Linked DNA regions of Homo sapiens: regions 1, 3, 4, 5 and 6 are each linked to region 2. The links are contacts of gene promoters, found by promoter capture Hi-C in blood cells and fetal thymus (Javierre and others, 2016). All regions are on one chromosome and are shown on one strand. The core of a region is centred on a gene start or on the middle of the fragment in contact, and the rest is flanking DNA. Distances in the headings are between cores, read along the strand shown. Region 1 overlaps SLC35D4 (solute carrier family 35 member D4). Region 2 holds the start of CABLES1 (Cdk5 and Abl enzyme substrate 1). Region 3 has its middle 150 kb from the start of SLC35D4. Region 4 overlaps SLC35D4 (solute carrier family 35 member D4). Region 5 has its middle 130 kb from the start of CABLES1. Region 6 overlaps RBBP8-AS1 (RBBP8 antisense RNA 1).

Region 1 (3,808 bases), core at 621-3,120, 170 kb before region 2:
AGAGAAGCTGATGAACTCACTTATGTGGTTAGTACAACATTGTTTCCAAGACCAGACAATTGCATTGAGAGGTAATAACATTTTAGTCCACTTCATTTATGACCATAGATGCAGAAGTCCTAAATTAAATGTTAATAAAAAAAAAAAAAAGAAGGGCCAGGCACGGTGGCTCACGCCTATAATTCCAGCACTTTGGGAGGCCAAGGCGGGTGGGATTGCTTGAGCCCAGGAGTTCAAGACCAGCCTGGGCAACAAAGTGAGACGTTGTCTCTACAAACAAATATTAAAAATTAGCTGGGTGTGGCAGTGTATGCCTATAGGCCCAGCTACTCGGGAGGAGTGCTTGAGTCCTGGGAGGTCGAGGCTACAGTGAGCTGAGATCACGCCACTGCACTCCAGCCTGGGCGACAAAGCGAGACCCTGTCTCAAAAAAAAAAAAAAAGGGAAGAGAAAAGAGGGACATTCATCATGCGCATCAGCTCAAAAGTTGTCATTCAATATGATCTTTGAGAAAAAGCCACCACTAGTCTCCACTTAGAGAAATCTCTTTCCCTATCCTTTGTATTCTTGTAATTGTCTGTCTGGCTGGGCTTCTACTTCTTTATTGCCCCTGAGGACAATACCCAGGTCTTTTTTTGTAATCAAGGTTTTTGCTACAAATCAATAAAGCGAGGCAGAAAGTGATACCAAATGACTTAACTACAAAGAAAAGTTCCAAAATCTCACCATGTTTATATCCTATCATGAGAATTCTGTATTTGTAGTTCCAGACTTCTTTCTGAGATGGTAATGCGTGACGATGAGGTTCATAAACATACTCCTTCCTTCTGCTTGTCTGTCTGCTGCCTTGCTCCCAGCTTGGAGACCCAAAGAGGCCTCCAAGACAGCACATGAAATCCCCTTGAGGGAGATGGTAGCTGAACCTCTCCCAACCTGGCCTACATCCCACCTCTCACTGCAAGAAAGCAGTTTCTTAAGCTTACCTTCCCCATGGAAGCTGTTTTGACCTGCAGGATGTGGAAGACTGGAAGCCAGAAACATCTTTCCTTAAGCAGACATTCCAAGTGTGGACAGAGCGGGGCCACTGGTTCACACACTCTCTTGGTGCTGGGGGGTTCGAGGCACTTCTGGGGTCTGAGTCCTGTGGCTGCCATTCCTGAGACACCTTTCTGGAATTTCCAGCCTTGAGAGATGTGGAGGTAACCTCTTCCCTCTCCTCTGGCTTCTAGATATTTGCAAATAATTAATTAATGATTTAATCACTCCTTTCCCCAGGATGCACCTGGTTTCTTAGAATGTGTCATGGATCAGAAAGATGGGAGCATTAGGTGAGGACGGAGAGATGGTGCATTGGACAAAGGCTGGGTGACAGATAAGTTTTTATCTGGAGGATCCGAGAACAGGTTAATGAGCACATCTGACCTTGGAGACGAGTTCTGCACTGCTGAGACAAAATGGAAATGAGTTTTCTTAATATACCCCTTCCCTGGAGAGAGATGAGGGCGGCCTTGGCTGTGCGCCTCCCTTTTGAAGAATTTGGAAGTTAAATGCTTCTTTGAACATTCTCACCTCCAAAACAGACTAAGACTTAGCCTTTTCTACACCAAATGCTTGGCTCAGAGGCACCGCTAAGTACAGGGGGCTGACTAGGAAGCGTGTGGGGAAAAGGACACGGGAAGTGGAACGAAGTGCCTGATGGCAGGCATCCGAACTCAAGTGAGCTAAGCTTGTGAAAAAAATGACATTGGAGGTTTCCAGAGCCCTGCTGGTATGATGACCTTGTGTTGAAATTATTTCTACAGATAATCACAGCTGGCTTATCAATATTGCTGTTTGATGCGATCCTGACCAGTGCAACCACGGGATGGTAAGTCTTTTGCATAGAGAGATAAAGTGCCAATTAGTTACTGAGTTTCATCAGGATACTAAATTTTGCTCTCAAATGTTGCAGAAAGGGAGTGTGCGTTGGCTGTGTATCTCCATCCAAATGCAAATCTCATATTAGCGAAGCTTTCTTTAAAAAAAAAAAAACTTGTATTGACCTGTAAATACAAATTGGGAAGAGTGCATATATCATAAATATACTACTTGATGGATTTGTACAAACCAACCATTCTGTATACCATAACCAGCATCCAGAGCAAGAAACAGAACATCACCCTCACTCCTCCACCCCAGGGCAGCCACTGCTGGTCAACCACTATGTGTATATATATGTATGTATATGCATAATATGTATAATATAATATGTATAATAATATGTAATGTTTAGTAAACCACTATACACACACACACACACACACACACACACACACACAATCAGCCCTTTGCATGAACAGGTTCCAGATCCTCAGATTAAACCAACTGTGGGTCAACAATGCAGTTTAGGCCTGCAATGGTTGCATCTGTACTGAACATGTACAGACTTTTTTTCTTGTTATTATTTCCTAAACAGTACAGTATAACAACTATTTACATAGCATTTACATTGTATTTGATATTACAAGTAATCTAGAGATGATTTAAAATATACAGGAGGATGTGCATGGGTTGTAGGCAAACACGACACCATTTTATATAAGAGACTTGACAACCCATGGACGTCCTGGAACAGATCCCCTTTAGGTACTGAGGGGCAACTGTATACACACACACACACACACACACACAGAGAGAGAGAGAGAGAGAGAGAGAGAGAAAACACGTGCTGTGTTTGGGTGTCTTTCCATTTCTTTGATTTTTCCATTAACTTTCAGATAAGCTCCAAATGATCCTGTTTAGAATGCACTACCCATTTGCATAAAGACAGCATGCCTCACTAAGCTGTCTGAGCAGAGACCAGAAGGAAGTGAGGGAGTGAGCCATGGGGATGCTGGGGGACAACGGTGCCAAGGGGTGGGGAGGAAGCAAGAAGACCAGGGGCTCTTGCCATGATCTAGGTGCAAGATGATGATGGCTGAGAACTGGCTGATAGCAGTGGAGGTGGGGAGACATGGTAGGATATCTGAGGCACTAGGATTTGAGAGAGGGGAGTCTAGGATGACTTCTAGGTTTGGGTTCCGAGCAATGAAAGAATGAGGTTGCCTTTACTGAGATGGAGAATGTTGTGTGAAGAGCAGGGTTTGGCAAGGTGGTGGTGGAGGCGTACTGGGCATTGGTTTGAATGTATGAAGGCTGAGGTGCCTGTTGGACCACAGAGTGGAGATACAGGAATAGATCGTTCGCCAAATCAGCCTGCGGATCTGGGGAGGGGAGAGCCTTTCTGTGCCTTGGCCATGGCACACATGTGTCTCCTCAGGGCTTCTGGGCCTGTCACTTCGGCCCGGATGCCTTCCTCCCTGCTTTCAGTTGGCCACTACTGCTCATCCCCCAGGCCTTCAAATCGAGGTGACCTCAGAGAGGCTTCCCTGGCCACATCCTGTGCAAGCCCTGCTAGCTTTTTCCTGTCGCCTTGCTAATTTCCTCCCTGACAGTTCTGACTGTTGTGACCAGATTCATTCCTTTCTGCCCATTAGGGTCTGCCTCCCTCCCAGAAGCAGTGCGCAGGACCCTGGGGGTATGCAGGAGACAGTTGGGTGTGGGGTGGTGTTCAGCAGGGCAGACCGGGACAGGCAGGCTCTTCAGAAGGATGGCTGAGCAGGGCAGATGGGGACAGGTGGGTTCTTCAGAAGGATGGCTGAGGCAGGGGCATGGCTGTGGGGAGACACAGTGGGGACTCAGAGTCCCAGGAGGTAGGTGTGGCCGTTGTGATGGTAGCTTCAGGACACACCTCCTGGAAAAGGCCACACTGCCCTGCCCCATAGCCCTC
Region 2 (3,816 bases), core at 1,059-3,558:
AGCACCCTCATGATTTCACCCACTTCGGAAGAAGTACACTAGGGGCAAACTTGTGGATGAGGCGGGCCTGTTCTTCCCCCATTTGTCCATTGCGGGAGGAAGTTAAGTTTTCCCATAGGCACCTTCTTACTTGGGCCAGATCAAGCTTTCAGGTAAGCATGATAGGAGAGAGAAATTCTAGCAGAGAAAGTCATTCTTTCCCAGAAGGGATAACTGAGGCCCCAAGAAGTTAAAACAACTTTGTCAAGGTAGGGTCTATGCTATTGCTAACTTCACAAGAGGCCTTATTAACCAACAAGGGAGGGCACTCCCTAGGAACGGATCTGCATTTCCCCACCTGTTCCCGCCTACTCGCCTACTTCTTTTGCAAGCTTCAGTTCACACAGTCCCAACCTCCGACTGCCCCTTAGAATAATACATGGTGACAAACTCTATTTCCTGAACAATAAGCAAACGTCCAGCGTTTCATGTTTTTGCTAAGACGCCTAATGCCGCCAGATAACTTCAGCTAACAAACAAGTAAAACAAGCGTTTAACGAACTCAAGCAAATTCATCTTGGAATAGGAAAAAAATCCCTCAAGCCCTATTTCCTCTTTGTTCCCCACCCCCCTAGGCCTAGTTGGAGGCAATGTAAGAAGGACTTTCCATTGCTCAGGAAAGCAAATGGAAAAAGCCAAGTTTCCCCGGGCCGCAAGAAGACTTGGAGCGCAGGCAAGAACTTCTCCGGAGGGTCACGCGTGTCTGCTACAAGTTCAGGCTCACACGCGCCGCTCAGCTGCCGGCCTGCACTGCTCCACTCTGCGCCCGGCCGAGTCTCGCCCCACGCGGGGAAGAGTGCGCCTCCGGGTCTGGACCGGGTTTCAGGAAGTTTGTGATCTCGTGTGGGGAGGCTCGGACGCCGCTTTCTACTGGGCTCCTGCAACTCCCAATTCCCGACCCACTGCACAAGCGCGGTGCTCCTCTGCGAATGCTGGGCTCGTGCAAACACGTGTAACCCCGCACTCCCTGGGGACGCCCCCTCTTTTGGGTGCCCTCGTGGTTTGGGATTCGGGCCCGGAGCACAGGATCCGGCAGGGCGCGGGAAAATGGGAGCAACCCGTGTCCCGTAGCCCAGAGACCGCGGGGAGGCTGGGAGCGCCGGGCGGGACGCAGGGTTGGGTGCGCGTCGCATCCCGGATACTCACCGGGACCTCTGCAGCTGCTCGAAGGCGCTGGTGCTGCCGCCCTGGCCTGGCTGCTCCAGGGAGCAGTAGTTCTGCGAAGTCGGCCTGGAGAAGGCGATGGGCAGGATTCCCTGAGTGAACGAGTTGAGGCGTCCCCGACTGCCGCTCCCACTCCCGGGGGTCCCGGAGCCCAAAAAGGCGGCCGCCGGCACCTGCACGCTGATAAAGGCATCGTCCTCCTCCAACTCCTCCTGCCCGGCGGCCCCGGACCCGTCGAGCAGCTGCAGTTGGGCACAGGCGGCGAGAGGCGCCGGCCGGGGCGGCTGCCACTGCTCCCCCGACGCCCGGCCGGCGCCCAGGGGACTCGCGAACCCCCGCGCCACCCCGGGGCCGGACACGGTCGCATGGCCGCCAGGAATCAAGGGCGGCAGCGACGAGGGCTGTGGGAGGCAGGGGCCGGACCCAGCGGCTAACCCCGCAGCCGGCGTGCCCGGCGCGGCGAGCGCGATGCAGCCGCCCCGCTCGGCAGCGGCGAGCAAGCTGAACCGAGTCCTCGCGCCGCAGGCGCCGCCGGCGCCCGGCTTGGCCGCGCCGCCCTCCTCGCCACCGCCCCACTCCGCGTCCTGCGGCGGCAGCCGGCCGTCCAGCGAGATGTTGGTGAGGAAGGAGAGGGCAGCCTGGCGGCGCCGCGGGTCCATGCGCGGCTTCCGGGGGGGTTCGGGCGGCGGCTGGGCCGGCGCGGCGGCCGCGGGCTGAGGCTGGGGCTGCGGCGGCGGCTGCTGCAATCCGCTGGCGCCCGCGGCGTCGGTGCCGGCGCTGCCGCTGCTGCAGGCGGCCGTGGTGGCGGCCGCCGCCGCCGCCGCCATTGTGTCCGTCTGCGGCGGGATTTCCGCGATGCCCGGAGAAGCGAGCGGCGCCCGAGCGCTAAGCGGCGGGCGCGAGCGGCGGCGACCCGGGCTGGGTAGGGCGCGGGGATCGGGCGGCGTGCGCGGCGGTCCAGCCCCCCCGCGGGCGGGCCATGCTCGCCCCTCGGTGCTGGGGATGGGGGCGCCGCCGCCCCGGCCCACGCGCACGCCTCGCTACCTAGCTCGGCTAGTTCGGCTCGCTGGCTGGCCGCCCGCCGGTCGCCTGGCCGCTGGCTCGCGGGCTCCGGGGCCGGGTGTCCGTATTTATAGGTGCGCGCGCCCCGCGCTCGCGCTCCAAAGCCCTCTTTGCAATAACACGGAATCACGTGTGGGGAATGCGACCTGGGAGGAAAACAAAGCCGCAGGCGGCGGCCGCAGAGGCAGACGGCGGGAGGCAAGGGGCCACGGGAGGAGGAAGAGGAGGACGCGAGAGCCGAGCGGGTGGTGGGGCGGGGGATCGGCCCGGCTGTCCGGGTTGTCGGAGCTGCCTGCTGGGAGAGTTGGCGACTCCCGGGGCCGCGGAAGCCAGGTGCGGGAGGCGAGCACGTTTCCCCCGCGCGCTCGCACTGGGAATTGGGTGAGCGAGCAGAACCCGGTGGGTTAGGTCCTGGGGCTGTGCTCCTGGGAGAGTTGTGGGTCTACAGGACGGTTATGTGGAGCGTTGCAGAGTTTTGGACTGCGAGCGAGTTACTTGGACCCCGCAAGGCCGTTGGTCCCCGAGAAGTAAATAGATCCTTTTCATAATAACACGGGTAAGTCCACAGCCCCTATGGAGACTGTCCCACCGTAAAGCTATCGCTAACAACCATTGCAGTTGGGTCTATTCATTCCCAGGCCAAGGATGCAGCCCCCGGGATAAATGCACGCCTTGGGATGCATAAGAGCCCAGAAGCACGAACATCTTACATGTGGCCAACGAACTCACGCATCCCCAATCCATGGTATTGTCACTTTTCATCTCTCTCTTAGCAAAGGACAACGCAAATTTTTTACTTTGGCTCTGAAATGTGCTCCATTTTCTGTGAAGACCCAGGTGGGCTAAAATGACCTTACACTCTTTTCCCCTGGTCACCTTGCAAATTTTTGTAGATTATGATCTCTTCTCCCTCATAAACTGGGACCAATGTGGACAGTTACCCTGTCGTTTATCTCATAAGCACGTTTGGCACCTACCATGTCTTCTATAAATACGGGTTCCTGACGGCCCTCCCAGAGCAGTAGCTCTGAATCTGGGAGGAGTCGCAGTCCCCACCCACAACGAATGCTTGTTTTGGTTGGGGGTGGGGGCGGGGGCGGGGACAGGGTGGAGGAGTTCACCTGGAGGGATCTGAAAACGTGTGCGGGTTTCCCCAGGCGGTATGGGCAACTTAACAAATGCAGTAAGGAACAATTGCCACACTGAATTAAGCTCTGTGACACCTAAGAAACCTGCTGCACTTTTGAGGGAGAAGCAATGTGTTTCAGATCAACGGATTAATTTAATTAAAGGTTTAAATTTAGCCCTGGAGCTAATGGGTAACTCTACATTGAAATTCCACTCCATTTCAAGTTCAGGAAAGTAAATTGAGTAATGGAGAGCAAATACACCGTCCAGAGAGGTGCCGCCAACCCGGAGTGCCAGACAGAGAGGGTTTCAGGTTACATTTGCTCAGGACAGAGATGGCACGTGGCCCTTTACATGAACAATCGTTGTTATATTTTATTTTGTGCTGTTTTTAGGCCTTTTGAAAACATGGAGCCTGGTGTC
Region 3 (3,933 bases), core at 157-2,656, 160 kb before region 2:
TCGTTTGCTTGAGATAGGGGTTCACTGTGTTACCCAGGCTCGAGTGCAGTGGTGCAGTCACAGCTCACTGCAGCTTCAACCTCCCAGGCTCAAGCAGTCCTCCCACCCCAGCCTCCCAAGTGCCTGGGACTACAGGCACGTACCACTCCACCCAGCTAATTTTTTATTCTTTGTAGAGATGGGGTCTCACTATGTTGCCCCCTGCCTGTTGTTCTTAAAATCTCAGATCTTTTCTTACATTGACACCAGCAAGAGGCAGAGGATAAGGTGTTTTGTCAGTATGCTATCAGTTTCCGTCAGTTTCTATTGGTTCTTGGGCCTTTTTATTCAAGCTTTAACCACCATCTTCTATGCCCAAATTCACGTGCTCAGCGCTGAATGAAGGATGAGCCCACAGACCTGAACAGTGGAGTGGCCCCCTCACTGTAGCCCCAAGCTCTCATTTTCTGCTTAGGGAGTCTCCAGGTAAGCCCACACTCTCCCTTTATTTACCCTTGGATCCTGTTTGGTACCTGATGACCTTAATCCTTGCTGGACCTCAGTCAGAGCCTTGGGATTTGGGTTTTTTTCTTTTATTTCTATAAAGAAAGAACGTGCTTTCTATTAGGAGAGGCAAGGTTGTGTACAATGGTGTATTATTACTAATATGCTGTGGATATAAAGAAAAATAAGGGCCAGTCACGGTGGCTCAAGCCTGTAATCCCAGCACTTTAGGAGGCTGAGGTGGGAGGATTGATTGAACCCAGGAGTTTGAGACCAGTCTGGGCAACACAGTGAACCTCCATCGCTACAAAAATAAAAAATAAAAATTAGCCAGGCATGGTGGCTCACGCCTGTAAGTCCCAGCTACTCAGGAGGCTGAGGCAGAAGGATTGCTTGAGCTCAGGGGTCAAGGTTGCAATGAGCCATGACTGTGCCACTGCACTCCAGCCTGGGCAACAGAGCCAAACTCTGTCTCTAAAAATAACAATAAAAGAAAAATAAATTGTTTATTTTCTTTCCTTTGCCCTTCTTTCTGTTCTCTTCAATACCGGCAGGGGAGTGTTACAGAAAATATTGGTGTTAACCCTGGGGAGGGAGTTCTTGTAGCTTTAACCCAGATCCAGACTCCTCTTTCTGCCCACATCCAGACCACTGAGCTTGAAATAGAGAAGGGCCCACCCAGTGCCTCTAGCCCTGTGCTGTCCAGTGTGGATGCCCCTGGCCATCTATGGCTTTGGAGCACTGGAGTGTGGTTGGGCCAAATTCAGATGGGCTGTAAGTGTAAGAACACACTGGTTTCAAAGACTTAATATTTTTTAAAAAGAATGTAAAATATCACATCATTTTTCTATTGATTACATGTTGAAATAATATTTTTTATATATTGGGCTAAATAAAATGTACTATCAACATTACTTTCTCCTGTTTCCCTTTACCTTTTGTAACGTGGCTGCTAGAAAATTTTAGTTTATAGATGTGGCTCCCATGATATGTCTGTTGGTCATGGCTGATTTATATTCATTCATTCATTCATTTATTTTTGAGATGGAGTTTCGCTCTTGTCACCCAGGCTGGAGTGCAATGGCGCGATCTCGGCTCACTGCAACCTCTACCTCCCAGGTTCAAGCGATTCTCCTGCCTCTGCCTCCCAAGTAGCTGGGATTACAGGCATGCACCACCAAGCCTGGCTACTTTTGTATTTTCTTTTTAGTAGAGATGGGGTTTCACAACATTGGTCAGGCTGGTCCCGAACTCCTGACTTCAAGTGATCCGCCCACCTCGGCCTCCCAAAGTGCTGGGATTATAGGCGTGAGCCACCACGCCTGGCCTTATTGCTGATTTAGAGCAGTTCATCTACACTGGGCCCAGGGAAGTGGCAAAAGAAGGGGGTGTTGGTGGTGGTTGCTGGGGTTACTGACCCAATAATAATATTTAAGATTATAGTTACTGGTGCCTATTTCATGCCAAGCATTGTGCTGGGTACTCTCCAGGCTCCCTGTCATTGATTCTTCCCAATGGTAGTGCAGGGGACATTCTCTTCATTTTACCAAGGAGATCAGAAAGACTCAGTAACTTTTCCAGGCCCACCCAGCTGGGACTCGAATCTAGGTTATTCAAAGCCCATGCTTTCAACCTTCATGCTAGAGAGTTCTGTTGAGAAGGAGAAATGAGGTCCCCGTGTTTCACAGGGGTTGTCAGTTCTCCAAGAAGTGCTGAGGTGTGGATTCCTCACATCTCTGAGGTGATTTGTGACTCTTCCTGAAGGCCATGCTCCTTCCCTTTGCCACCGGGCAGGGTCTGTGGCCTGCACTGCAGCTGCCTTCCCAGAGTGTCCCAGTTTCTTTCCCCAGCCTCCTCCCTCAGGTTCTGTCTGAGACTCTTCGTGAATGGGGTTGGAGCAACCAGGAGCACTGGGGAAATGGCACTGCTCTCACCTGAACTATCACTCTGCGTGTTTCCAGAACCCGCAGCCACTGTTTGTTGGTTCTCAAGCTTGGTTGCAGGCAATGGCATGTTCAGATAGGTGAGGAGCTCGAAGATTGAAGGAAAAGCTTCCAGACCCTGAGAGACAATGTCAGGAGAGGACACCATTCTTTTCACTGGGTCTGCATGCCCAAAAAAGGGAGTACAGTCACAGATTGGGGTGAAAGCACAAGCAGGTAATACCATAAGCAGTTAGTCATACTTGGAACATGACATCTCTATTGAGAAGTTGCCTTGGACAAAGTATTGAAATAGGATATGGAATTGGCTGGAAGTTCAAGTGGCTGGGACTCATTTGAAGTTACTTAATGGTCCTTTGATCCTTGTTCTGGGGGAAGCCAGTCAAAGGGGTGAGACTTTTGGGCTTCTCCTGGCCCCACCCAATGTCCCTGGCTTCAGGCTGTGTCCCTGAGCCCAGCCCGGAGAGAAGCAGTGGTGGCTTGTCTCCAAAGATGCCCCACCTCCATCCCAGTGGTATTCATTCTGCTATACAGTTCTGTTCCTTTCTCTTGGGTCTGGGCTGGCTCTGCGACTTACCTGTAGCCAATAAGGTGTGATGGAAATGGTGCTATGTGACTCCCAAGGCCAGGTCAAAGCAGCCTTGCAGTGTCTGCCTTGGTCTTCTGACAGCCTCAGGAGCCCTGAGCTGTTGTGCAGGAGAGGCCAGGCATGGGTGCTCCAGGAGACAGGCCCCACTGAGCCCAGCCTTGCAGCTGGCTTGCCAAACCACTCAACTCACGAAGGAGGCTATCCAGGTCCTCCAGACCAGCCCATCTGCCAGCCGAGTGCCATCAGGTGACCTCAGTCAGTGCCACATGGGGCAGAAGAATCACCCTGCCCAGCAGTCCCTGAATGAATTCCTGCCACAAAAGCATGAGATATGGTAAAATCATTTTAAGCCACTAAGTTTTGGGACAGCGTGTTATGCAACAATAGAAAATAGAGCTGAGGCCCACCGTCCTGCCCTTTCTGCAAGATGCTAGCATAAGTGGGCTGTCCTCTGAGACCCTTGAACTCTGTTCTTCTCAGGCAGATCCAGTCTGGGCTCTCTGAGCCCCTCCCCTGTCTAGACTCTTATTCTAGGAGCACTGTTCTTCACTGCAGCTGACCTCAGCCCAGACGCTGTCTTCGGAGGAAGATCCCAGACGGTCCATGACTTGTTCAGACCCCATTGCAGGGCAAGACCCACAGCCCTTAGCCATTGGCTCAAAGCACGTCATTCATTCATTCAAAAGATATTGAGACCTACTGAGTGCCAGGCTCTGTTTTAGGATCTGAGGATATAACCACGAATGAGATGAGCCCTCCTGGAACTTACTTTCTAGTGGCAGAGACAGGAACAAACACGGGAATAGAATTTCAAAATGACGGGTGTGGTGGCTCATGCCTGTAATCCCAGATCTTTCAGAGGCCGAGGCGGGTGGATCACCTGAGGTCAGGAGTTCGAGACCAGCCTGGCCAATGTGT
Region 4 (3,868 bases), core at 440-2,939, 190 kb before region 2:
ACCTCCAGGAAACTGAGAGGCTGGTGGAGACTAATGGAGAACAGATGAACGTAAGGGAAGTAGGTTGTCACGGGAGCCAGGAACTCACTCTGCAGCTCCGCAGAGCGAGCCGGCTGTCAGGGTGCACCTTAGGGACACCTGCAGCCCAACCATCCGGAGAGCTGAATGCCAGGCGTCCCCAGACATGAGCAGGCATGGGCTGGGGTGTGGAAATGCAAATGGCGTGGTTTCCTGGTCAGAGTTTGAATTTTCCTGTAGGTATTTAATGTAGGGGGTATTCACCATTATTGAAGCAAATAACTTTCCCCTTAACTTGTGACTTTAATTTTGACCCATGACATCTCTAGAAAAAAAACCTTAGAAACCATTTAGTCCACTATCTTCATTTAAAAAGTTCAAAAGGCTAATTATAGAACATGTAGAAAGTAAATGAAAAAAAAGCTTATGGGACTCTACCATAATAGACATTTTAGAGTATATTCTTTGGGAAATTTTTTTTATACACACATTCCTGAGGTTTTCTGTTTTTACAGAAATGGGATTGTTCTTCACCTGTTGGGTTTCTTTTTTTGTTCTTTTTTTTTATACTTTAGGTTCTAGGGTACATGTGCGCAACATGCAAATCTGATGCATAGGTATACACCTGCCATGTTGGTTTGCTGCACCCATCAACTCATCATTTACATTAGGTATTTCTCCTAATGCTATCCTTCCCCCAGCCTCCCATCCCCGACAGGCCCCGTTGTGTGGTGTTCCCCACCCTGTGTCCAAGTGATCTCATTGTTCAGTTCCCACCTGAGAGAAAACATGTTGTGTTTGGTTTTCTATCCTTGTGATAGCTCAGATTGATGGTTTCCAGCTTCATCCATGTCGTGCAAAGGACATTAACTCATCCTTTTTATGGCTGCATAGTATTCCATGGTATATATGTGCCACAGTTTCTTAATCCAGTCTGTCATTGATGGACATTGGGGTTAGTTCCAAGTCTTTGCTATTGTGAATAGTGCTGCAATAAACATACATGTGCATGTGTCTTTATAGTACCATGATTTATAATCCTTTGGGTATATACCCAGTAATAGGATTGCTGGGTCAAATGGTAATTCTAATTCTAGATCCTTGAGGAATCGCCACACTGTCTTCCACAATGGTTGAACTAATTTACACTCCCACCAACAGTGTAAAAGCGTTCCTATTTCTCCACATCCTCTCCAGCATCTGTTGTTTCCCGACTTTTTAATGATTGCCATTCTAACTGGCATGAGATGGTATCTCATTGTAGTTTTGATTTGCATTTCTCTGATGACCAGTGATGATGAGCATTTTTTCATGTGTCTGTTGGCTGCATAGATGTCTTCTTTTGAGAAGTGTCTGTTACATCCTTTGCCCACTTATTGATGGGGTGGTTTGTTTTTTTCTTGTAAATTTGTTTGAGTTCTTTGTAGACTCTGGATATTAGCCCTTTGTCAGAAGGATAGATTGCAAAAATTTTCTCCCATTCTGTAGGTTGCCTGTTCACTCTGATGGTATTTTCTTTTGCCATACAGAAGCTCTTTAGTTTAATTAGATCCCATTTGTCAATTTTGGCTTTTGCTGCCATTGCTTGTGGTGTTTTAGTCATGAAGTCCTTGCCCATGCCTATGTCCTGAATGGTATTGCCTAGGTTTTCTTCTAGGGTTTTTATGGTTTTAGGTCTAACATTTAAGTCTTTAGTCCATCTTGAATTAATTTTTGTATAAGGTGTAAGGAAGGGATCCAGTTTCAGCTTTCTACATATGGCTAGCCAGTTTTCCCAGCACCATTTATTAAATAGGGAATCTTTTCCCTGTTTCTTGTTTTTGACAGGTTTGTCAAAGATCAGATGGTTGTAGATGTGTGGTGTTATTTATGAGGCCTCTGTCCTGTTCTATTGGTCTATATCTCTGTTTTGGTACCAGTACTGTGCTGTTTTGATTACTGTAGCCTTGTAGTATAGTTTGAAGTCAGGTAGCGTGATGCCTCCAGCTTTGTTCTTTTGGCTTAGGATTGTCTTGGCAATGCGGGCTCTTTTTTGATTCCATATGAACTTTAAAGTAGTTTTTTTCCAATTCTGTGAAGAAAGTCATTGGTAGCTTGATGGGGATGGCATTGAATCTATAAATTACCTTGGGCAGTATGGCCATTTTCACGATATTGATTCTTCCTATCCATGAGCATGGAATATTCTTCCATTTGTTTGTGTCCTCTTTTATTTTGTTGAGCAGTGGTATGTAGTTCTCCTTGAGGAGGTCCTTTACATCCCTTGTGAGTTGGATTCCTAGGTATTTTATTCTCTTTGTAGCAATTGTGAATGGGACTTCACTCATGATTTGGCTCTCTGTTTATCTATTATTGGTGTATAGGAATGCTTATGATTTTTGCACATTGATTTTGTATCCTGAGACTTTCCGGAAGTTGCTTATCAGCTTAAGGAGATTTTGAGCTGAGACAATGGGGTTTTCTAAATATACAACCATGTCATCTGCAAATAGAGACAATTTGACTTCCTCTTTTCCTAATTGAATACCCTTTATTTCTTTCTCCTGCCTGATTGCCCTGGCCAGAACTTCCAACACTATGTTGAACAGGAGTGGTGAGAGAGGGCATCCCTGTCTTGTGCCAGTTTTCAAAGGGAATGCTTCCAGTTTTTGCCCATTCAGTATGATATTGGCTGTAGGTTTGTCATAAATAGCTCTTACTATTTTGAGATACGTCCCATCAATACCTAATTTATTGAGAGTTTTTAGCATGAAGCGTTGTTGAATTTTGTCAAAGGCCTTTTCTGCATCTATTGAGATAATCATGTGGTTTTTGTTGTTAGTTCTGTTCATGTGATGGATTACTTTATTGATTTGCGTATGTTGAATCAGCCTTGCATCCCAGGGATGAAGCCGACTTGATCATGGCGGATAAGCTTTTTGATGTGCTGCTGGATTCGGTTTGCCAGTATTTTATTGAGGATTTTTGCATTGATGTTCATCAGGGATATTGGTCTAAAATTCTCTTTTTTTGTTGTGTCTCTGCCAAGCTTTGGTATCAGGATGATGCTGCCCTCATAAAATGAGTTTTAGAGGATTCCCTATTTTTTTTTCTATTGATTGGAATAGTTTCAGAAGGAATGGTACCAGCTCCTCTTTGTACCTCTGGTAGAATTTGGCTGTGAATCCGTCTGGTCCTGGACTCTTTTTGGTTGGTAGGCTATTAATTATTGCCTCAATTTCAGAGCCTGTTATTGGTCTATTCAGAGATTCAACTTCTTCCTGGTTTAGTCTTGGGAGGGTGTATGTGTCCAGGAATTTATCCATTTCTTCTAGATTTTCTAGTTTATTTGCGTAGAGGTGTTTATAGTATTCTCTGGTGGTAGTTTGTATTTCTGTGGGATCAGTGGTGATATCCCCTTTATCATTTTTTATTGCATCTATTTGATTCTTCTCTCTTTTCTTCTTTATTAATCTTGCTAGTGGTCTATCAGTTTTGTTGATCTTTTCAAAAAACCAGCTCCTGGATTCATTGATTTTTTTGAAGGGTTTTTTGTGTCTCTATCTCCTTCAGTTCTGCTCTGATCTTAGTTATTTCTTGCCTTCTGCTAGTTTTTGAATTTGTTTGTTCTTGCTTTTCCAGTTCTTTTAATTATGATGTTAGGGTGTTGATTTTAGATCTTTCCTGCTTTCTCTTGTGGGCATTTAGTGCTATAAATTTCCCTCTACATACTGCTTTAAATGTGTCCCAGAGATTCTGGTACATTGTGTCTTTGTTCTTATTGGTTTCAAAGCACATCTTTATTTCTGCCTTCATTTCATTATTTACCCAGTAGTCATTCAGGAGCAAGTTGTTCAGTTTCCAGTTGTGC
Region 5 (4,140 bases), core at 991-3,490, 130 kb before region 2:
AAGATAAAAGGCCTGCTCTCTTTTCTGGGATGGCTTGGTGAGGCCAAATGGCTGCAGCATGTGGGCTCTGGGAACCCTAAAGAATGTGTCTCCCAAAAATGAGGCCCCCAGGACCTAAATGACCCAACTGGACAGCTGTGGAATTGTAGGGACTTCCCAAACCGGGTGGCCAGAAGACTTGCAGTTGAATTGAAACCATGGGATGTTGTGTGTGCTGAGAGGGGGACTCTGTTCAGTGCACATGGTGCGGGCCTGTGTGCCAGGGGCCTGAGGAGGCCTTGTGGGGAAAAGGGGCTGTGTGACAAGATGGGCAACAGGACACCCTAGTGCAGCCAGCCAGGCAGGGAGTGGCTGAGGACCTAAGGGAGCGCTAAGGAAGGAAAGAGGATGGGGCAGGGGACCCCAGATGTGAAGCAGAGGTGCAGAGGAACGGGACAGAGTCAGGGCGAAGGGAAGGAGGCACTTTAGGGAGAAGCTGGCTGAGGGCCGACAGTGCAGGGAGTGGGCAGCCGGAGAGCCATGACAGAGGCAGCAGGAAGAGCAACTGTGTGGCACAGAACAAGAGCTAGAGGAGTGTCCTGGGGGGAGGAAAGCAAGTCCCTATTGAGAAGATTGGGGGCAGGAAGTGGGCCGGGGTGGAGGGAGTGCAGAACAACCTAGAGAGCCACCAGGGCTGGCACGGGACAGGTGGAAGGGGCAGGAAGCGCCCGTTCAGAAGAGCCTATAGAGTCTGAGCTGAACTTGAGAGGAGCGTGGGCTTGGCAGTGTGTCATAGACACCCTGAAATTCACCTGCAACCCCCAGTGGTGTCCTGAGGCCATGTGCACGCTGGACAGCGGAAGAGACCGAGGGTGGTGTCAGTGAAGAATGTGGCTGAATCTTACCAGGAATGAGGTGAGGCCACATCGCGTCTCACAAAACTGCCCCCGGTTCCTCAAGTCAGCAGCAAGGGGCAGCCCCATTTTCAGCCAGGCTCTGGTTTAGAGCTCTCACTGTGGGGCGGCAGGGCAAGCACCTTCTTCTGGGTCAGGCCCCATGCAGATGCGGTTTAGGGCAGAGTGTGGGCACAGCTCTACCTCTGTGGTCTGTTGGTCGGATGCTCTGCCCTGGAGTGGGGGGCCTAGGCTAGGTGGGGACACAGACCAGCAGGCAAGGCAGCCCACCAGCCCCTCATCAGCGAACCAGGAGTCACTCCCTGAGCTTCGGCGAGGGAGCCTCTCTGGGGGAGGAGAGTGAGAGAATCCAACAAGCTGCTCTGCAGGGCGGGTGCCGCTGAGGGGGCTCCAAGGGCCACGTTTGAGGGCAGCTGTCCAGGTGAGTTGGCCAGGCGACCTTGTCATCACTGGAGAGGAAGCCTCAAGGCCACAGGGGCCTCATAATCACCCCATTGAGCTGCTCAAGTAAGCACCTGGGGGAATTTGGTTTCAAGAAAGCAGAAAAACACCTGAAGTCCATTTGTTGGCTAATGGCTGTGAAGCCACCTGGTTGAAGAGACCACTGTGCCTCTTCAAGGACATCACCGGTCCCAGCTCCTGCATTCCCTGAGTTGTCACCGACACTCTGCCTGAGCAGTGGGGGACAAGAACGGAATGGAATCTGAATGTATTTTATGGTCCAAATTTGGCCCTAGGCACCTATCTGTGCTCCAATCTCTTTCTCTATAAAGCAGGATTTGTTTTTTTTTTTTTTTTTGCTAAGAATTAAGTTCAATGGAGGTAAAAATAGTAATTGTTTTCATCTATTGAGTGCCTACTGTATGCCAGGCCCTGGGCCAGGGGTTTACTGTGCCATCTTCCAGAGTCCCTCTGATGGGAGGTACTATGACCCCCAGCAGGCATGGGCTGGCCAGTGGCTTGCATAAGGCCGCACGGTCTGCCTAGCTCTGGAACCTTTTCCTGCCTTCCAGTGCCTGCTCCTCCTAGTGTCAGCTGCCCCTGGGCTCCCTAAGGGCTGCTTCTGAGAAATGGCCCCTTCCGGCTGCATATTTTTCCAAAAACCGTTCTGGCCCCAGGCTTCCCCTGAGGCTTCCCCTGAGAGTATCTGTCACTCTCTCCAACACATACTGGAAAGAAGGGGGGAAAGTAAGCAATTCTCATTTGTGTCTTGTTTTTATTTTATAAATAAAAATGAAAATTGATTTCATGGAGAAGGCAGCTGCCTTAGGGAACATGGTATCTGGCTTAGACACTCATAGAACAGTATGTATGCTTCATCAGGGCCTTCTAGATAAGCCTCAGAGGCGATCTGCTTCCTTTTTCTGGAAGCCACGATTTTTAAAAAATAATTTATAGCAAGTGGTTCCGGCAGAGTGTGCCATCCACCCTCTCCAGTGGGGAGAGAGATTTCTTTTTGGTCATCTTTTATGATCAGCTTCTGTTCAGATGACCCTCATAAGAGAACTCCCAAGAACTCCAAAGTCTCAGTGGGGCCACGGCAGCTGTTGGGAGGGGTCTGGGCTGGTGGGAAGTGCCCATTGGGCTGCTTCAAGGCCAGGGTCATTGTAGCCAAACTTTTTTCCTTTCTGGTTTTTTTTTTTTTTTTTGAGAGCCATGTGATATTTTTGACTGTTCCTATCCATTCTTGGTGCTTTGGGGGGACGATTCCTACTGCTTGTTTCCAGAATGCTTTGGGGTTATAGACAACCCCAGATTGCCCGTACTTGATGAGACACCGTTTCCTACTCTGCCAACTGGGTGTATTGGCCAAAGCCACAGCATGAACTTGATGGCTCGTGCATTGGGAGAAATTGAGTGAGTTTAGTGAAGGAACTGTCCAAGAAGGGGTGGTGAGATCCCGGGACTAGCAGGGCCCCTTGGCTGGGGTGGAGGCTGGGCCGTGGAACACACACCCCAGTTCCCGTTCTCCTCCTGCTCTCTCATTTCTGGTCAGTGTCTCTCCTTCCAGAGCCTAACCAGAAGCTGGAGGGCAAGGAAACCTGGGTGCTGGGATCTGCAGAGTCAGCCCTGAGTGAGATGCGGATGTGGCTGGATATTTATCCCCACCCAAATTTCATGTTGAAAAGTAATTCCTAATGTTGTAGGTGGGGCCTGGTGGGAGATGTTTGGGTCATGGGGGTGGATCCCTCATGAATAGCTTGGTGCTGTCCTCACGATAGTGAGTGAATCCTCACGAGATCTGGTTATTTAAAAGTGTAGGCCGGGCACGGTGGCTCATGCTTGTAATCCCGGTAATTTGGGTGGCTGAGATGGGAGGATCGCTTGAGCCCACAAGTTTGAAACCAGCCTGAGCAACATGGTGAAACCTCATCTCTACAAAAAATACAAAAATCAGCTGGGCGTGGCGTGATGCACCTGTAATCCCAGCCTATTTGGGAGACTGAGGTGGGAGAGTCGATTGAGCCTGCAGCAAGCCATGATTGCACCCCTGCTCTCCACCTGGGCAATAGAGTGAGAACCTGTCTCAAAATAAAAAAATGACGGCTGGGCACGGTGGCTCATGCCTATAATCCCAGCACTTTGGGAGGCCGAGGCAGACGGATCACGAGGTCAAGAGTTCGAGACCAGCCTGACCAACATAGTGAAACCCTGTCTCTACTAAAAATACAAAAATTAGCCGGGCGTAGTGGCGCGCGCCTGTGATCCCAGCTACTCAGGAGGCTGGGGCAGGAGAATCGCTTGAACCTGGGAGGCAGAGGTTGCAGTGAGCCGAGATCGCACCACTGCACTCCAGCCTGGGTGATAGGGCGAGACTCCGTCTCAAAAAAAAAAAAAAAAAAAAAAAAAAAGGAATAAAGTGTGGCACCTTCCCACCCCTCTTGCTCCTGTTTTGCTGTGTAGCGTGCCTGTTCCCGCTTTGCCTTCTGGCATGAATAAAAGCTCCCTGAGGCCTCTCCAGAAGCTGAGCAGACACTGGCACCTGCAGAACCAGCAGGCAATTAAGCCTCTTTTCTTTGTAAATTACCCAGTCTCAAGCATTTCTTTATAGCAATGCAAGAACTCTCTAACACAGATGCTGAGCAGAAAGCTGATTCAGAGTTGCAGGGAACAATCCACCCAGTGGGGTAATTTGTTTTGCGATGGCTCATTTAACTCAACCAGTGTTTATTTGGTGAATTCTGTGTACCAGGCCCTGTGATAGGTGCTCGAGTTCATGGTGATGGAATCCAGTCCTGCTCTGCTG
Region 6 (3,728 bases), core at 1,222-3,721, 210 kb after region 2:
GTCTTACTCTGTCCCCCAGGCTGGAGTGCAGTGGCGCGATCTCAGCTTATGATAGCCTTCACCCTCCAGATTCAAGCAATCCTCATGCCTCAGTCTCCCGAGTAGCTGGGATTACAGGCACCTGCCTAGCTAATTATTGTGTCTTTAGTAGAGACGGAGTTTTGCCATGTTGGCCAGGCTAGTCTCAAACTCCTGACCTCAGGTGATCCACCCTCCTCGGCCTCCCAAAGTGCTGGGATTACAGGCATGAGCCACCACGCCCAGCCCTGTTTTCCTGCTTTTTTTTTTTTAATTTTTTGAGACAGAGTCTCACTCTGTTGCCCAGGCTGGAGTGCAGTGGCACAATCTCGACTCACTGCAACCTCTGCCTCCTGGGTTCTTTCCTACTTTTTACTAGAGTCTTAGCACAGAACTATCCCACAGAGCCACATATATAATATTAAATTTTCTAAAAATTACATTTTAAGTAAAAATCAGGTGAAATTAACTTAATATATTTTATTTAACCCAGTTTATCTAAAATATTATTTAAACATGTAATCAATATAAAAATTAATGAGACTTTTTACATTCTTTTTCTTCATACTAAGTCTCTGAAATCTGTTATATATTTTACCTTTACAGCACATCTCAGTTTAGACTAGCCACATTATAAGTTCTCAAGTCTGCATGTGACTAGTGGCTACTGTATCGTACAGCGCAGGCCCAGCATATATAATATAATCAATGAGTGAACAAATGAGGTTGTGTGATTTACTTAAAGAAGCAGGATGGAACTGGGACGTGGGTATCCAATTCTTCGTTTATTTCTGCTATTTGTGCTGGGCATTTCCCATCTCTGTCCTGCTCCCTGCATCATCCCATCCCCCACCCAGCATTAAGTGCCTGTGTCTCCAGGCATAAAATTAAAAAGTAAGTGATTAAATCCTTTATGATTATTTATCTAAAACTCTCTAGTATCTCTGACATGAACACACAATACTGGTAAACTGGGGTGAATTGTTATACCTGCAGTCATAACTATTTTAAGAACACAACAAAGGCTGTTTGAGAGGTGAGGGAAAGAAACTTTAAGACAAAAGAAAAGTATCTTAACTGGCAACATTTGTGTTAACTTGAATGAACACTTGATTCAATTTTTTAAAAGTTGTTTACAGTAATTAGTAAGTGTTGTTTGTGAGTGGGAGTATACATCAATCAGTGATCTTGCCTCAAGTGCCAAAATGTTTTGTTTATGATTTGAGTTGATGGTGCCAAGATTCCAGATTGAGAAGTTTTATAATTGTATAAAAATATATATTTAACATTGGTGGAAGATGTCAGCATCACAGTTTTTATTTTGACAATATTCTAGGTGTTCATTTAAATGCTCATAATGGACATTAAAGAGTATACCTTGCTTTTTAATTAGAAAGATTAGTCTCGTGTAGCCTGGCCAATTTCCAGTTTAGATAAGGAAGCTTTATTTTGATCTTCACTCTAGCTACATTGGACTTCATACCTTCTTCGTTTCCCTTTTTAATCTGTTGAAATAGTTTTCTGTTTGTTTTTAAACATCATTCACCAAGCTGCTTCATTTCCCATCAGTAATGGCCAAAGTTTTACTGGCACATAATTTGCCCGATTTAGGAACTATCTCTTTATACTTGATAAAGAAGGTTAAACAGTATATTCATAGTTGCCCAGGTTTAAATTATAATGGGGTGATGAAGAACGTTGTTGATCTGTTATTTGCAAAATGGTTTCTTTTTTATTTATTTATTTATTTTGATACAGAGTCTTGCTCTTATCCCCCATGCTGGAGTGCAGTGGCACGATCTTGGCTCACTGCAACCTCCGCCTCCCAGGTTCAAGTGATTCTCCTGCCTCAGCATCTTGAGTAGTTAGGATTACAGACATGTGGCACCACGCCTGGCTAATTTTTGTATTTTTAGTAGAGACAGGGTTTCACCATTTTGGCTAGGCTGGTCTGGAACTCCTGACCTCAAGGGATCCACCTGCCTTGGCCTCCCAAAGTGCTGGGGTTACAGGTGTGAGCCACCGCAGCCAGCAAAATGATTTCTTATGAATGGAAAGGGACACCTGTTTCTTCCATGTCATCTATTTATAATGCAGTGGCTGTTTGGACAATATTTCGTATCTATTCATATAAGCTTATGAAGCCCAGGAATTTTGTTAGTTGGTTAGCCCATAAGCCTTTTTTCTAACCCTGGCACTTAAAAGGATCTCAGAACTTAACTGCTGAAAAAATAAGATAATTTAAGAGTGATCACTAAGACTGTAGAGTAAAAAAGTTTATTTTATTTTCAGAATCTCGAAAAACAAATCTTTACCATTTTGTCTATTAAAGTATTATACTGCATTGTACCTATGTATAATGCTACCATGATACAAGCTGTGGGAGTAATATTTATTTACAGCAATGGAAAATATTATGAAGGGCTAACCGTCGGAACAAGTCAGTGACATTTGGATTCTATTAATTAAAGAATTCTTTGATAGGTTCACACAAGCAAACATGTTTAATATTCATTGCTTTGTCCATGTGAAAAAATCATCGCATCTTAAACACTAATTTTTTTCACCTGTGAATTGATGGATTTATTCACTGCCAGCAAATAGTTGTGATCTTTAATGTAATTATGTGCTTCACAGATTACAGATATATCTTTAAACGCACTGTCTTTTTTTGGTCTTTATTCTAATTATGCTTGAGAAAAAAGACTTTGTTTAAAATATTGGCTTTTTGTTTTTTCTAATCCATGTTAATCTAAGTTTAAGGAAGCTTTGATAGTTACTTTTCCAAAGGTAAAATAAAAAATTTAAAAATGTTTTATGTTCAACGTTCAGTACTTAAAGGAGATCCTGAGTTTTAGCTAGAAATGTTTTCAGTTTTATGTAAGTTATAATCAGAAAGATTAAAAATGTACAGTGAAATTGTGTTTTAATTCAGTTCATACTCTTGGTGACAGTTTGTTTTTGTGGACTATTTAGGATACTAAAATTGAAATAGATAGGCTTCCGGCCAAGTGCAGCAGCTCATGCCCACAATCTCAGCACTTTGGGAAGTCTAGGTGGGAGGATTGCTTGAGACCAACCTGGGCAACATAACAAGACCCTGTCTCTACAAGAAAATAAAAATAAATCTAGCTGGGTTCAGTGTTGTGTGTAGCCTCAGCTACTTGGGAGGCTAAGATGGGAGGATTGCTTGAGCCCAGGAGGTCGAAGCTGCAGTGAGCCTTGCTCACACTCTGGGTGACAAAGCGAGACCCTGGCTCAAAAAAAAGAAAAAAAAAAAAGCTTCCTTCCTTTTCTCAGTTATGGTAGACCTCTTATGTGAGGTGATCATATGCCCTAGCTTACCAGTGACAGTCCTGGTTGATTCCTATTGCTCTAGCTTAATTATTAATACAGCTCACTTTTACTTTAAAAAACATCCTGGTTTGGATGACTGTAAACCATATGGTCAGAGCCTGATGCAGTGGCTCATGCCTGTACTCCCAGCATTTTGGGAGGCTAAGGCAGGAGGATCACTTGAGCCCAGAAGTTTGAGACCAGCCTGGGCAACATAGTGAGGCTTTGTTTCTATAAAAAATAAAAACAAATTAGCCAGGTACGGTGTGTATGCCTGTGGTCCCAGCTACTCAGGAGGCTGAAGCGGGAAGATCTCTTGAGCCTAGGAAGACGAGGCTGCAGTGAGCCATGCACTGTACTCCAACCTGGGTGAC

What was found. The method cuts DNA at HindIII sites, captures the fragments that hold promoters and counts their contacts. A CHiCAGO score of 5 or more calls a contact.
Region 1: a contact is called between a fragment that was not itself captured here and the fragment with the promoter of CABLES1 in region 2, in 5 of 17 cell types (endothelial precursors, total CD8 T cells, megakaryocytes and 2 more). The highest score is 10.6, in endothelial precursors.
Region 3: a contact is called between a fragment that was not itself captured here and the fragment with the promoter of CABLES1 in region 2, in 3 of 17 cell types (endothelial precursors, megakaryocytes and total B cells). The highest score is 6.7, in endothelial precursors.
Region 4: a contact is called between a fragment that was not itself captured here and the fragment with the promoter of CABLES1 in region 2, in 1 of 17 cell types (total B cells). The highest score is 5.1, in total B cells.
Region 5: a contact is called between a fragment that was not itself captured here and the fragment with the promoter of CABLES1 in region 2, in 5 of 17 cell types (megakaryocytes, endothelial precursors, M2 macrophages and 2 more). The highest score is 11.0, in megakaryocytes.
Region 6: a contact is called between a fragment that was not itself captured here and the fragment with the promoter of CABLES1 in region 2, in 3 of 17 cell types (naive CD4 T cells, total CD8 T cells and naive B cells). The highest score is 7.1, in naive CD4 T cells.

What each region holds. Positions count from the first base shown.
Region 1 is chr18:23,307,739-23,311,546 of GRCh38, reverse strand. It overlaps SLC35D4 (solute carrier family 35 member D4), which reads left to right. Exons shown (of 15, transcript NM_032933.6): 14 at 1,803-1,867. Among named protein-coding and RNA genes, the nearest start is that of SLC35D4, 130 kb to the left of the region's middle. RefSeq lists enhancers at 3,061-3,560, 3,561-3,808. The HindIII fragment of the contact is 284 bases long and covers 1,729-2,012 here.
Region 2 is chr18:23,133,977-23,137,792 of GRCh38, reverse strand. It overlaps CABLES1 (Cdk5 and Abl enzyme substrate 1), which reads right to left and starts at 2,308. Exons shown (of 10, transcript NM_001100619.3): 1 at 1,186-2,308. The coding sequence starts at 2,030. RefSeq lists silencers at 1,440-1,689, 1,790-1,999, 2,130-2,339, 2,460-2,539, 3,300-3,409 and 3 more and an enhancer at 2,960-3,109. The HindIII fragment of the contact is 5,609 bases long and covers 374-3,816 here.
Region 3 is chr18:23,290,836-23,294,768 of GRCh38, reverse strand. It overlaps a transcript of SLC35D4 not described here. Among named protein-coding and RNA genes, the nearest start is that of SLC35D4, 150 kb to the left of the region's middle. The HindIII fragment of the contact is 2,143 bases long and covers 335-2,477 here.
Region 4 is chr18:23,326,910-23,330,777 of GRCh38, reverse strand. The region is part of intron 13 of SLC35D4 (solute carrier family 35 member D4); the gene reads left to right. Among named protein-coding and RNA genes, the nearest start is that of SLC35D4, 110 kb to the left of the region's middle. RefSeq lists an enhancer at 1-506. The HindIII fragment of the contact is 2,491 bases long and covers 444-2,934 here.
Region 5 is chr18:23,263,959-23,268,098 of GRCh38, reverse strand. It overlaps a transcript of SLC35D4 not described here. Among named protein-coding and RNA genes, the nearest start is that of CABLES1, 130 kb to the right of the region's middle. RefSeq lists an enhancer at 727-816. The HindIII fragment of the contact is 6,403 bases long and covers 1-4,140 here.
Region 6 is chr18:22,924,465-22,928,192 of GRCh38, reverse strand. All of the region lies in intron 1 of RBBP8-AS1 (RBBP8 antisense RNA 1), which reads left to right. It also overlaps a transcript of RBBP8 not described here. Among named protein-coding and RNA genes, the nearest start is that of RBBP8, 7.0 kb to the left of the region's middle. The HindIII fragment of the contact is 632 bases long and covers 2,156-2,787 here.